Regions from separate parts of the Homo sapiens genome. Here regions 1 and 2 are each linked to region 3. The links are contacts of gene promoters, found by promoter capture Hi-C in blood cells and fetal thymus (Javierre and others, 2016). All regions are on one chromosome and are shown on one strand. Each heading gives the region's core, a stretch centred on a gene start or on the middle of the fragment in contact. The rest is flanking DNA. Distances are from core to core; before and after follow the strand shown.

What was found. The method cuts DNA at HindIII sites, captures the fragments that hold promoters and counts their contacts. A CHiCAGO score of 5 or more calls a contact.
Region 1: a contact is called between the fragment with the promoter of ZNF677 here and the fragment with the promoter of ZNF468 in region 3, in 4 of 17 cell types (neutrophils, naive CD4 T cells, naive CD8 T cells and 1 more). The highest score is 8.4, in neutrophils.
Region 2: a contact is called between the fragment with the promoter of ZNF415 here and the fragment with the promoter of ZNF468 in region 3, in 6 of 17 cell types (M0 macrophages, total B cells, neutrophils and 3 more). The highest score is 8.2, in M0 macrophages.

The regions. Positions count from the first base shown.
Region 1 is chr19:53,253,497-53,257,785 of GRCh38, forward strand. ZNF677 (zinc finger protein 677) reads right to left here and starts at 1,377. Exons shown (of 5, transcript NM_182609.4): 1 at 1,338-1,377. The HindIII fragment of the contact is 13,972 bases long and covers 1-4,289 here.
Region 2 is chr19:53,130,379-53,134,624 of GRCh38, forward strand. ZNF415 (zinc finger protein 415) reads right to left here and starts at 2,532. Exons shown (of 4, transcript NM_018355.4): 1 at 2,478-2,532. The HindIII fragment of the contact is 7,510 bases long and covers 1-4,246 here.
Region 3 is chr19:52,855,792-52,860,097 of GRCh38, forward strand. ZNF468 (zinc finger protein 468) reads right to left here and starts at 1,828. Exons shown (of 4, transcript NM_001008801.2): 1 at 1,781-1,828. It also overlaps a transcript of ZNF320 not described here. RefSeq lists an enhancer at 1,427-1,506. The HindIII fragment of the contact is 10,660 bases long and covers 1-3,830 here.

The DNA of each region.
Region 1 (4,289 bases), core at 127-2,626, 400 kb after region 3:
GGCTAACAAGGTGAAAATCCCGTCTCTGCTAAAAATACAAATTCACCGGGCATGGTGGCGCATGCCTTTAATCCCAGCCACTCGGGAGGCTAAGGCAGGAGAATCGCTTGAACCCTGGAGGCGGAGGTTGCAGTGAGCCGAGATCAAGCCACTGCACTCCAGCCTGGGTGACAGAGTGAGACTCCGTCTCAAAAAAATAAATAAATAAATAAAAGAAAGCAAAAGAAAGCATTTAAACCTCATAAGCTGAACAATACATTTAAGAGAAAATACTTTGAAAATTTTTTTTAAATCCAATAAATTATGGAATTACATTTAAGACAAGTTGAATACACGTCAAATTTAGAAAATGACACAAGCCACACACAAAAAAGGAGGGAATAATATTGTTAATGTCTGTTTGCAAAAGCAGCATACGGTGTCACAGTTTCTTCCCATTTCTTGACTCTCCTCAAGATCAGAGAAAGGGAAGAGGGTGAGCTGGAATTAACTGAGCTAAGTCAGTTAACCCTCTGGCTGAATAAGGGTTGCTTCTGATGTAATAATTAGAAAACGCAGAAGCCTCACACCGTAGTTTTGCAATTTTCATGCTCTTCTGCACAAACAATGAAGCAAATTTTAAATTAATTATAGAGCCATACATCAGTACTTCACAACTTAATGTTCCATATTAAATCAATCCACACTCACATGGATTTGGGTGCCCCCCCCTTTCTCCACCATTATGTGATTTTTTTCCCCCTCTCTATAAATGTTTCTCTTCCACCTTCTGTTTCTTTCCTTTTCTTTTTCCCATTTCGGCGTTTTCCTGTCCCTTTCTGCTCATTTGGCTTCCCTTCCTCTCCTTCTCTGACAGAGTGTTTGGCCCCATCCTGGTAGCATCCTTTTTTTCAGTCCCTGCTATTGTTTCTGATGGCTCTCTAATTTCGCGCATTTCTCCCTCTTTATCCTCCATTTCTGCTTCCCCTCTGTTCTCCCTGGAGAAGGGCGAAGGGTGTGTATCCACCCCGAGTGAGGGCTTTACCAGGGGGAGGGAAGAGGGAGTCAGAGAAGAGTTTTAAGCAGAGAAACGACGCGGTGGGCGGTCGGTGTCCACACTGACCTAAAGCAAAAAGGTCGGGGCCAGTACCCACTTCAGAACGATTTTAATCCGAAATGGACGCAGATCTCTAGACCCTCTCGGAGCGACGGGACTGGGAACGTCTTAGGGCCACGCCGCGAGAGGAATGAGCAGGTTCGGGGTTTTAACCTACAGGGCGACCCCAAAACCCGACAGCGGAGCGTGGGAACCTGTGGCCCGCGAGGCGCAGGCTTGAACCCGAAAGACGGAGACTCACCCGAGAGCGCCAGTAGCCCCGCGAGATCCGCTTCCGGGTCGGCAGGAACCTGCGCGTACGCGAGTGCACTGGGGCGGCGCAAGGGGCAAGGGCAGGGGCAGGGCGCGGACAACTGTGGGGATGGGCGGGCAAATGGCGGGGATGGGCGGGGACAATGGCGGGATGGGCGGGGACAATGGCGGGATGGGCGGGGCCTAGGGGTCGGACTGCCGGACCTCTCCTCGGCGCGTCCCAGCGACTTTTTTAGGCCTGTTTGTCGCCCAGCAGTACTCGATTCTTCACTTTTGGATTCCCTTGAATCTCTATGGTGTCCTTTGGAGCCTAGCTAAGTAAAAAATTAGAGACCTGTGGGCCCCTTATATTGGAATCGGAGCTTAAGATGGGAAAGGTTTGCTTGAAAACGTTTCTGCGAGCGATGGAGGCGCGTCCTGCGACGAGGCGGGAGGAGCGCTGGGACCTGGTGGATGGGAGAGGGCGACGGTATAAGGAAGCTCTTGGATCCAGGAACTTCTGAAATCCGGACGATTAAAATTTGTATTTAATTAAGCGAAAGCTGGAGTTGTCTGCGTAGGTGATGGAAACTGGAATGAGATGCATTTTTGTGCCTGTGCGGAGTGTACAATTTTATATTGACTTTCACTGGAACGTAATTTTTATTTCCGCTCCCCAGTCACCCAGGAGGCAGAGATGCACCATGGGCTGAGTTCCAGAGAATTTATGGGGTCAGACCCTGGGCGGTGGGGGGTGGAAGGCTGAGGCTTGGCTTTAAAAGAACGCAAAGTTCTGCTTGTATCGATCTAAATTTATTTTCCTTTATTATCCTAATGCACATTTCTTGAGATAAATTACAAATCCAAGTGCTGGATTTATTGGAGTTGGTATGTTGTGTTTTGTCTAAGTTATTAATTACTAATATACTATCGTTATTATTATTTTTATTATTATTTTGAGATGGAGTCTCTGTTTCCCAGGCTGGATTGTAATGGCGCGATCTCGGCTCACGGCAACCTACGCCTCCTGGGTCAAGCGATTTTCCTGCCTCAGCCTCCCGAGTACCTGGGACTACAGGCGTGTGCCACCATGCCTGGCTAATTTTTGCATTTTTAGTAGAGACGGGGTTTCACCACGTTAGCCAGGTTGGTCTGGGACCCCTGAGCTCATGTGATCCGCCCACCTGGGCCTCATGAAGTGCTGGGGTTATAGGCGTGAGCCACCGCTCCTGGCCTTTAGTCTGTAAAGTCTTTATTCTCAGTTATTTGGAAGAGTATTTTTAACATAATATGTGCTTGGCAATTCTCCTGGCCAACTGAATTGATTTCTCTTGGGCCCAGAGAGGAAACTTATTGACTGGAGGCTCCCCAAGAGAAGATGAGCCCATATGGGGGTATCTGAGTAAACCAAGGTCTATCCACTGTCTCTTTGGGTCTCTGTTTTCGTAACTGGGAATTACATCTGATAACAGGTGAAGGGTGAAAAAAAAATGAGAGTGCATTTTAGCATAAAAATACATATATGTTATTTACATATAAACATACACATATAAAAATTCTATTTATTTTACATATAAAAATACATATATGTATTTAAATTTTTTTTTTTTGAGACGGAGTCTCACCCGTACAGACGGGGTTTCACCGTATTAGCTACGATGTCTCGATCTTTTGACCTTGTGACCCACCCATCTTGGCCTCCCAAAGTGCTGGGATTACAGGTGTGAGCCACAGCGCCCAGCCTCTTTCTCTTTTCAATGTATTAAATGCACAAGATTCCATACTTTCAAATTCCATTTTGCAGAATTATTATATTTTCATAGGTTTCCCAAATCAAATATTAATTCAAGTTTCAGTTAGTTGTTTTAAAATAATAAATATATAGTTACATAATCTTTAAAATGATTCGTTTTCTAGCCTAAAATGCTTTATCACCTTTTATGTTTCATGTCTCATATTTTAGTGCACACTCTACCTAATGTTGTACATTAATTTCCGTGATGGGTGCCGTAGTATTTTTAGTCTTTGCAGACAGTGAAATGAGTGTTTCTGCTGGTATCTTAACATCTACTCACATTAAATACATTGGGTCATATGAAATTATTTAGTGCCTATTATAACTTATCAAGACCTATGAATATTCACTCATAAGTTATATTGATATGTAGAATAAATACTTTGACAAAAATAGGAAATTATCAAACCAAATTTATAAAGTGAACATGACAAATATTTATACATATGTAGGTGTGCGTGTATGTATGTGTGTGTGTATATGTATATATATGTGTGTATAGATATATAAAGGACACAACTAGGCAACTATTATAGCGTAGTAGTGAACACCAATGTTACTGCAACCAGGCTACTCACGTTCAAATCTTCACTCTTCTGGTATTTAAATGAGTCACCTAATCTCCTTGTGCTTAAACTCTTTTAGAGTTGGTGAAAGGAGAATAATATGAATTCCTACCTCATGGAGTTGTGAATATTAAATGTCAGAATAGGTACAGCATTTATAAAAGTCACTCATACATTGTAGGTGCTGTAAAAAGAAATACACGAAATGGGAAATTTGTTAACAATATATCTCTCTATATATTTCACTTTTAATATTCAGGGGGAAGAAATCGTCATAAGTGAAAGGTTATTTTCCATGAAAATGTGGCCCACAACTCGTGTTGCCATGCAGAACCTTCTGCTTACTCAATATTGAGTGCTGGAAAATGACAGAATGGCCTCTGTGGACCTGAAAATTGGAATGATCTTCCTATTTGTGGGCAGCAAGCCACCCAGCTGCCGAGGCAAGAGACCGAGGGCACGAGCTGTTCCAGCATAATAAAATATATAAAACAACAAGAGTTATATTAGATCTAGATCATAGACATGATTATATATGAATATCATTAATCATTAGTTGGTAGCAATTACTCTTATTCCAATATTATAATAATCCTCGCTC
Region 2 (4,246 bases), core at 1,282-3,781, 280 kb after region 3:
TGGACACAATTAATTTCAAAGGGAAAGATTTTGAAATTGTTAAGAAATATCTGATGAATTTTGGAGCTAAAAAAATTGAAAACACATTATATTTAGAAAATGCCATGAGCTGATTATAGGATGCCACCAAAGTTACTTTGGAAATAATTATATACAGAAAAATAGAAACTGAATTAATGAAGATCTATCTCAAGTTGCAAAATGAACTATACATGAGATGAAAGGGAATTAGTAAGAAAAAAAGCAAATCAATTACAAAAAGCAACAACACTTTTTTTGTTTGTTCTTTGTTTTTTTTTCAGACGCAGTCTTGCTCTGTCACCGGATCTCGGCTCTTGGCTCACTGCAACCTCCGCCTCCCGGGTTTACACAATGCTTTGCCTCAGCCTCCTGAGTAGCTGGGATTACAGATGCGTGTCACCATACCTGGCTAAGTTTTGTATTTTTAGTAGAGATGGGGTTTCACCATCTTTGCCAGGCTGGTCTTGAACTACTGACCTTGTGATTCACCCACCTCGGCCTCCCAAAGTGCTGGGATTACAGGCATGAGCCACCATGCCCAGCCTCAACACTTTTAATGTTCCTTTTGAGCAACGTTGTCCAATCCGCAGCCCAGGAAGGCTTTGAATGCAGCCCAACACAAATTCCTAAACTTCCTTAAAACATTTTGAGATTTTCTTGCAACTTTTTTTTTTTTTTTTTTTTTTTTTTTTAGCTCATCAGCTATTGTTAGTGTTAGTGTACTTTATGTGTGGCCCAAGACAATTCTTCTTCCAATGTGGCCCAGGGAAGCCAAAAGATTGGACACCCCTGCTTTAGAGAGACACTATGTAGTGACAGTCTTTCACTTTCTGCCCAGCTTTACTCTCCCACTCCCCCTTCCCCTCCCCCTGCCCCAACGCCAGGGAAGGGGAAGAGGATGACCTGTGGAATTAATGAGTCAAGTCACTTCCCTCTGCCTTAACAGGGATTGCAAGTGGAAGCTAACTTCTGATGCCATAATTATAAAATGCACCAGCCTTAATAGACAGGAGCTTTGCAATTCTCATCATCTGTGCATTTTAAACTTATAAAGACAGAAATCAACAGGTCAAAAGGTAGTCATCACATCCAGTCAGTTCACAACTCACCTGGACCTGGGGTCCCCCTCTTTCCTCATTATGGTGTGTTTCCCTCCCTCGTTCCGTACATCGCTCTCATTCTCACCTTCTTTCTCTAGCTCTTTCCTTCCCCTTTATTTTCTCCCTAGGATTCTGCTCATTTTGAGCCCCTCTCCTCTCCTGCTGCTCCTCCCCGTCTTCCCTCTATTCTTTCTCTTCCACTTGCTCTTTCCATTCTTGCAATGTATTTAATTCCTCTTTCTTCCTAATCTTTTCATTGTCCCAGTCTCCACATATTTCTGGCTCTTTCTTCCCCATTTCAGCACTCCCTGTTAAATTCCCTCTTCCCTGTTACACACCGTTGTCCCCACTCTTTGGCACCCCCAGATCCCAGGCCTCCCCGTGCTGTGGTTCTCCCTCTGCTTCTCCTTGTCATCGGCTGCCCCCTCTTGCTGTCCCGGTACCACACTGCCCTGTCTGCCCTGGCTCCAAATCCCTTCTGCTCTCCCCCACTCTCTGTCTGAGGAGCCTCCTCCTTTGCTGCCCCTCTCCCTACCTGGCTGTCCTTCATCTCTCTGGATACTGTGCTTTTTCTCGAAATGTGTCTAGTTACTTTTCTCTCCCTGCTACTTTCTCGGCTTCTTCTTCCACTCTTACTGTCTCTGAAAATCTCTAACCATCCTCTACTTTGCCATCTGTTTATTGGTTTGCCTCATTCCTTCCTGTCTCAGGTTTTCTACTGCTCTCTCTGTCCCTCGATCCCTTTGGCCCACACATTCACAGGACGGTTTGGGGTAAGACGCCTGCATCCTGGAGGAGCGCATTTTCCACGGGGTGGAGGAGGGCAGGCAAGAACATCGGGTGTCACAGGACAGGCCCTGAGCACCTCCCCAGCGCGGGCTCAGGGGAGGCCTGGGGAGCAGCGGGGCCCGGCACGAGGAGGAGGGAGGTGGGGCGCGACAGCGCCTTCAGACAGGGGTGGGGTCTGCAGGATCCCAGGACCAGGCAGAGGACGCAAGGCTCCCCGGGACTGCGGCTGCAGCTGCGGCGCTGCGCTCCAGGGGCCGACGAGGGCAAGGCTGGGAGGCACCCAGGACGGGAATACACCTCTTGGGTGAAGACTTTAAAAAGCCCGGGGATGGGGGAGGGGGTCAGGAAAAGGTTTTAAGCGGGAGGAAGAAGCAAAAGGCCGGGGACGGGGAGCAGCCTCAAAGCGACTTCAACCCAAAGGGAAGCGACTCCGGACCCACACTGCGAGGCCTGTATTCACCTGGGGTGGAGTGTACGGGGATTTTAAGGGCCGTATCGACCCTGGACATCGGCTGTGGAAATGGGAAACAGGGAGCGCAGGTTTAATCTACACAGAGGGTCACTCACGCTCGACGCCGTCACCTTCACCCAACGCGATCCGTTTCCGGGCCTGTAGGAAACTGCGCATGCGCGGAGAGAAGAGCCCGGGCAGCCTGAAGGAATGGCTGGAGTGGGCGGGGTCTGCGCCGCTTTAAGGTAAAAAAATCAGAGTTGTGTGGGCCACTTATGGTGGAAACCAAAATGTTTTCCACTTACCAAGTTGAAAACGGTTTATGTTAAAACTATTTTGCCTGCAGGTTGGACCCGATCCTGCTAGGGAGTCTCCTGCAGCTTAGCAGTCCGGGAACTGGGATTTCGGTGGGGAATCCAAAACTAGCAGTGATTGGATCCATAAAAGTTACCAAAAAACAAAAATGAAGTGTCTGGAATCACTCCACTGGATTTCAAGACTACCAATATAGGAAAGGTAATAAAAACTGTGTGGTTTTGGGGCAATAAAAGACATATGGATTGATGCAATACAGTAAGAGAGTACAAAAATAGCCTCTACAGGTACTTCCAACTGATTTTTGACAAAGTTACCAAGGGAATTGAATGAAGAATTTTTAAAAACTGGTGAGGGGCTAACTTAATATCCACAGCAGGAAAGAAGTCATCTCTACTCAAACTTCACAACCGTACAGACATTAGTTCAACATTGACCATAGCCTAAATGTAAAATATCAAACCATAAAATGGTATCCTGTAGGAGACTGAAAGAAAAAATTACTCACAATAAAATCGTAAGAATCAAGAGCTTGTTCAAAAATTCTTAGCCATAGCAGCAAAAGCATGATTCATTAAAGAAAAAAAAAATCAACTGGTATTTACCAAATTAAAAACTTTTGGTCTGTGAAAGACCTTCAGACGATGAAAGAAAAGGTATTTGATATGGTTTGGCTCAGTGTCCCCATCAAATCTCATTTTCAAGTATAAACCTCAGGTGTTGAGGGAGGGACCTGGTGGGAGGTGACTGGATCATGGGGGTGGTTTTCCCCAAGCCGTTCTCATGATAGTGAGCTCTCAGGAGATCTCATGGTTTAAAAATCTGTGATAGTTCCTCCTTTGATCGCTCTCTCTCCTGCTGCAAGCAAGACGTGCCTTGCTTCGCCTTTGCCTTCCTCTATGATTGTAAGTTTCCTGAGGGCTCCCTAGCCATGCGGAACTGTGAGTCAATTAAACCTCTTTTGTTTATAAATTACCCAGTCTCAGGTTGTCACAGGAGGGTTTAGGCAGTGTGAAAATGGACTAATACAGTACTGAATAATAGAAAATATTTGCCTACCATATATCTGACATAAAACTGGTATGTGGAATGTATAAAGAATCCTAGAACGACTTAAAAAAAAAGCAAAATAATCAAATTAGAAAATGGATAGAACTATGAAGAGACATTTCACTGAAGCAGATATACTGAGATAAATGGGCACATAAAAAGATTTCCAACATCACCATCCATCAAATCTCAGACCTCAGCATATTCTGCTTTCTCCATGTGAACCCCTGGATGCTGTCAGAGATCATGAGAAACACAGGAGCTTCTACTGAACAGTCCAGTTGATGTGTATTAGCAACCTGTAATTGTTTTTGGAAACGAACAATGGAAACACAGATACAAAAATATTCTCAGCTCAAGAAATATGCACTTTGTCATTATTAGTGATTTTTTTTTTTTTTTGAGACAGAGTCTTGTTCTGTCACCCAGGCTGGAGTGCGGTGGTGTGATCTCAGCTTACTGTAACCTCTACCTCCCAGGCTCAAGCGATTCTCCTGCCTCAGCCTCTTGAGTAGCTTCA
Region 3 (4,306 bases), core at 578-3,077:
ATTTTGCCAATCATTTCAGGGGTCAGGATCACTCAGGTTGAGCTTTTCTGGTCTAGCCCTTCGTCGCAAAGATGCAGGGAGGTTCACTGGGGCTCAGAGCTGGAAACATTTTCACGAAGTTACCCTGAGAAGGTCTGAGATGAGTGAGAAGGTGTGCCTGAATTCTTACATGGGGGCCTGGAAGGGCTAATGGGATGGGTTGGTCTTATCATCCCATTCTTAAAATTAGAGAAGCATTTTTCACATGCCTGGGTTAAAGAAAATTCTTTTGAAAGGTTCTGATGAAATTGACTCCCAACATTGAATTCTTCCTTACAAGAAAATCACACTAACATTTATAAAATGCAGCAGTGTAAACACACAGCTCTTGACCTTGAAAACAGGGAAACAGGGTCAGCTGTAGAACCAAGACATAAGCAAATTATTTCAATCAAGAAATACATGGGTGGACAGCTGAGGTGGTTCACACCTGTAATTCCAGCACTTTGGGAGGTGGAGGTGGGTGGATTACCTGAGGTCAGGAGTTTGAGACCAACCTGGCCAACATGGTGAAACCCTATCTCTACTAGAAATACAAAAATTAGCTGGGCTCCATCCTTGCAACTTATTTAACCTCCTGTTGGTCCTTCTCCCCAATCTTTAGATCGTCCTCAATCTCCATAGATTTCTGCCTCTTCTCCCATCTATGCGCCTCCTCTGCTCTCCCTGTTAAATTCTCTCTTCTCTGTTATAACCCCCTGGACCCAATCTGGCACCCCAGATCCCCAGGTGTCCTCCCCGCTGTGCTTCTCCCTCTGTTCTCCTTGCCACCAGCACCACTCTGCTCTGTCTGACCCGGCTCCACATCCCTCCTCCTCTCCCTCACTCTGATGAGCCTCCACATTTCTGCCCCTCTCCCTACCTTGCTGTCCTTCATCTCTCTGTACATCTAGCTTTTCTCTACATTTCTCCAGTTGCTTTTCTCCTCCTGCTTTCTTATCTTTTATCACTTTTGCTGTCTCTTGGCAAATCCCTCACCCATCCTCTACTTTGCCATCTGTTATGGGTCTTTCTCATTCTTCTTTTCTCTGTCTCAGGTTTTCTACTGCTCTCTCAGTCCCTCTCTCTGTCTCCTGATCCCTTTGGCCCACACGATCACAAGAGGGTTTGGAGTAAGACGCCTGCATCTCGGAGAAGCGCATTTTCCAAGTGCTGGAGCTGGGCGGGCAAGAACACCCCGCGTCACAGGACAAGCCCCAGGCACCTCTCCAACGAGGGCTCAGGGGACGCGGTGACTGCGGAGGGGAGATCTGGGGAGCAGCAGGGCCCAGCAAGAGGAGGAGGGAGGTGGGGAGCGACGACGCCTTCGGACAAGGGTGGGATCCGCAGGATCCCAGGACCACAGAACGCAGCCTTCCCGGGACTGGGGTCGCCGCGCTGTGCTCCAGGAACCCAGGAGAGTAAGGCTGGGAGGCGCACAGGGTGGGAATACACCTCTAGGGTGAGGACTTTAAAAAGAGCCGTGCGGAAGGAGTCAAAAAACGGTTTTGAGCAGGAAAACTACGCGATAGGAAACGTATACATTGCCCTATGGCAGAAAGACCCGGGACGGGACCAGCCTCAGGGCGACTTTAAACCTAAAAAGAAGGGGCTTCCGGACTCCCAGTAGAACATCTCCATTTGCTCTGAGTGAAGGAAGAAAGGCGAGAACTTCCAGGTCTATGGGGACCCCACATCCCATGTACAGAAGTGCCGGGGACCTGGGAAGCTCAGACTTAACACCACACAGAGCAAAACTCACCGCCCGCCGCGGCGTGACCGTCATTCCACGGGATCCACTTCCTGGTCTGCGCGAATCTGCGCGCGCAGGACAGAAACCAGGCCTGGGTGGAGCCAACGAGGAGGCGAGCGGGGCCCGGGTGAGGTGTGGGCGGGGCGCGAAGCGGCGAGACCTTGCCCTTTAGAACCCGCAGAGGGCGGGGCCGGAGCGGGACCTGTGCATCTCTCAGCCTCCTCCCAACCCGTTCTCCGGGTTTTGGCGGCGAGAGCCCCCAGGAAGGCAGACGGATAATTCAAAAGCCCTGGAATAGTCTGGAAGGAGGATGCAAACTAGAATGTAAAATGCAAAGCCCTTTCTGGGCGGAACGTAGGATTTCATGCTGATGGCCCACAGGACAGTATAGAAATCTTCTCCCTTTCTATTCTCCATTCACTCAGGAGGGAGAGTCCACCCAGTGCTCAGCTTCAGAGACATCCCTAGGGCCACAGCCTGGGATGCCAGACGGAGTGCTCAGGCCAGGGAGGAGTGAGGTCACCACCTGCTGCTTAAACACAGCAGGGATGCGGGCGTGGGAGCCTGAGGTCCCAGCTACTCAGGAAGCAGCGGCGGGAGGATCGCTCAGCCTGGGGGTCCAGGACAGCCTGCGCGACAATGTAACATTCCCTCCCGCAGTCTCTCTCTTTTTTAAATTTTTAAAATAAAATTTTTATTAGGCCGGGCACGGTGACTCACGCCTGTAATCCCAGCACTTTGGGAGGCTGAGGCGGGCGGATCACGAGGTCAGGAGATCGCGACCATCCTGGCTTACACGATGAAACCCCGTCTCCACTAAAAATACAAAAATTAGCCGGGCGTGGTGGCGGGCGCCTGTAGTCCCAGCTACTCAGGAGGCTGAGGCAGGAGAATGCGGTGAACATGGGAGGTGGAGCTTGCAGTGGGCCGAGACCGAGCCACTGCACTCCAGCCTGGGCGACAGAGCCAGACTCCCTCTCTAAAAATAAATAAACAAACTAAATTTGCTTGTGTGAGATAGGAATACAACATTACTCTTCTCCATATGGATATCCAGTTAGTTGTCCCAGCACATTTGTAAAAGAGATCTGTTACTTTCTCCTTTTTATTTACATTTTTTCTTTTTCTTCTTCTTCTTCTTTTTTTTTTTTTTTTTGAGACTGAGTATTTCTCTGTCGCCCAGGCTGGAGTACAATGGTGACATCTCGGCTCACTGCAGCCTCTGCCTCCTGGGTTGAAGCGATTCTTCTGCCTCAGCCTCCGGAGTAGCTGGCATTACAGGCACACCCACCATGCCCGGCTAATTTTTGTATTTTGGGTACAGACGGGGTTTCATCATGTTGGACAGGCTGGTCTCGAACTCCTGACTTCAAGTGATCCGCCTGCCTCGGCCTCCCGAAGTTCTGGGATTACAGGCGTGAGCCACTGTGCCTGGCCCAAGAAATACTCTTTACTTCGCTTTTTAAATGTTGAAAAAATACAATTGAAAACTAAAAAATCTTCCCCAAAATGAGAAATCATCTTCATGACAAAACAGGAAGAAATAAAAACCATTTTATTAGTAAATAAGCCTTAGACCAGAATGTGTTGGGAAATACAGGCAAAGAGCTGAGAGGTTGAAAAGAGAGAAACTTCACTGCTCTATACAACCCATTAAGTACATGTTTTCAAGATAAACACTAATCAGTCCTCAGGGAAGAGGACTTGACAAGTCTTTGGTCGCACATAGTTCATCCTGGCTCTACTTGGTAATGGAGGTGACCATCTGTGTCAGCTAACTAGCTTCATGCAGAAGGAGGGGAAATACATTAACCCACGTCTTTTTGACAAGTGTGAGTTTTACGACATGGCGACAGGTGCCCTCTCTAGTGAGGCTCCTACAATCTGACGGAAACTGACGTCAGCAGTAAATAATAAAATTCAGAATACACGATTAATTATAGAGTTTATTGGAACACAAAGTTTGAGGATAGCCATCTGGAAACATCAACTCCAAATGAAGGGGGCCCGTGTTCCCATGTAGAGATGTTAAGGTTTCACACACAGGGAAAGACAGAGAAGCTTTAGCAGAATCAACACATTTTCCATTCAAGACCAGTGCATAGGCTGCGGCAGCTTGACTGGTGATGGATTGATACACTTCAAGGAAGGTTACTTTATCACTCCGTAAGAAGGGACAATGATGCCAAAAGGTCTTATCTCTGGGGCTGGGTAGTCTTCCTACTTACAGGTAAACTGTTTTTTTTTAAATTGATATTAGGAAACTAAATTTTATTGCACTACACGCTACCAGTTACAAAGTAGGGTGTCCTCATAAACAAAGGAAATGCCTCCTCTTTAAGTTTTTCTTTCTTTTTTTTTTTTTTTTGAGACGGTGTATCGCTCTGTCACCCAGGCTGGAATGCAGTGGCGCAATATCCGCTCACTGCAAGCTCCGCCTCCCGGGTTCACGCCATTCTCCTGCCTCAGCCTCCAGAGTAGCTGGGACTACAGGCGCCCGCCACCACGCCCGGCTAATTTTTGGAATTTTTAGTA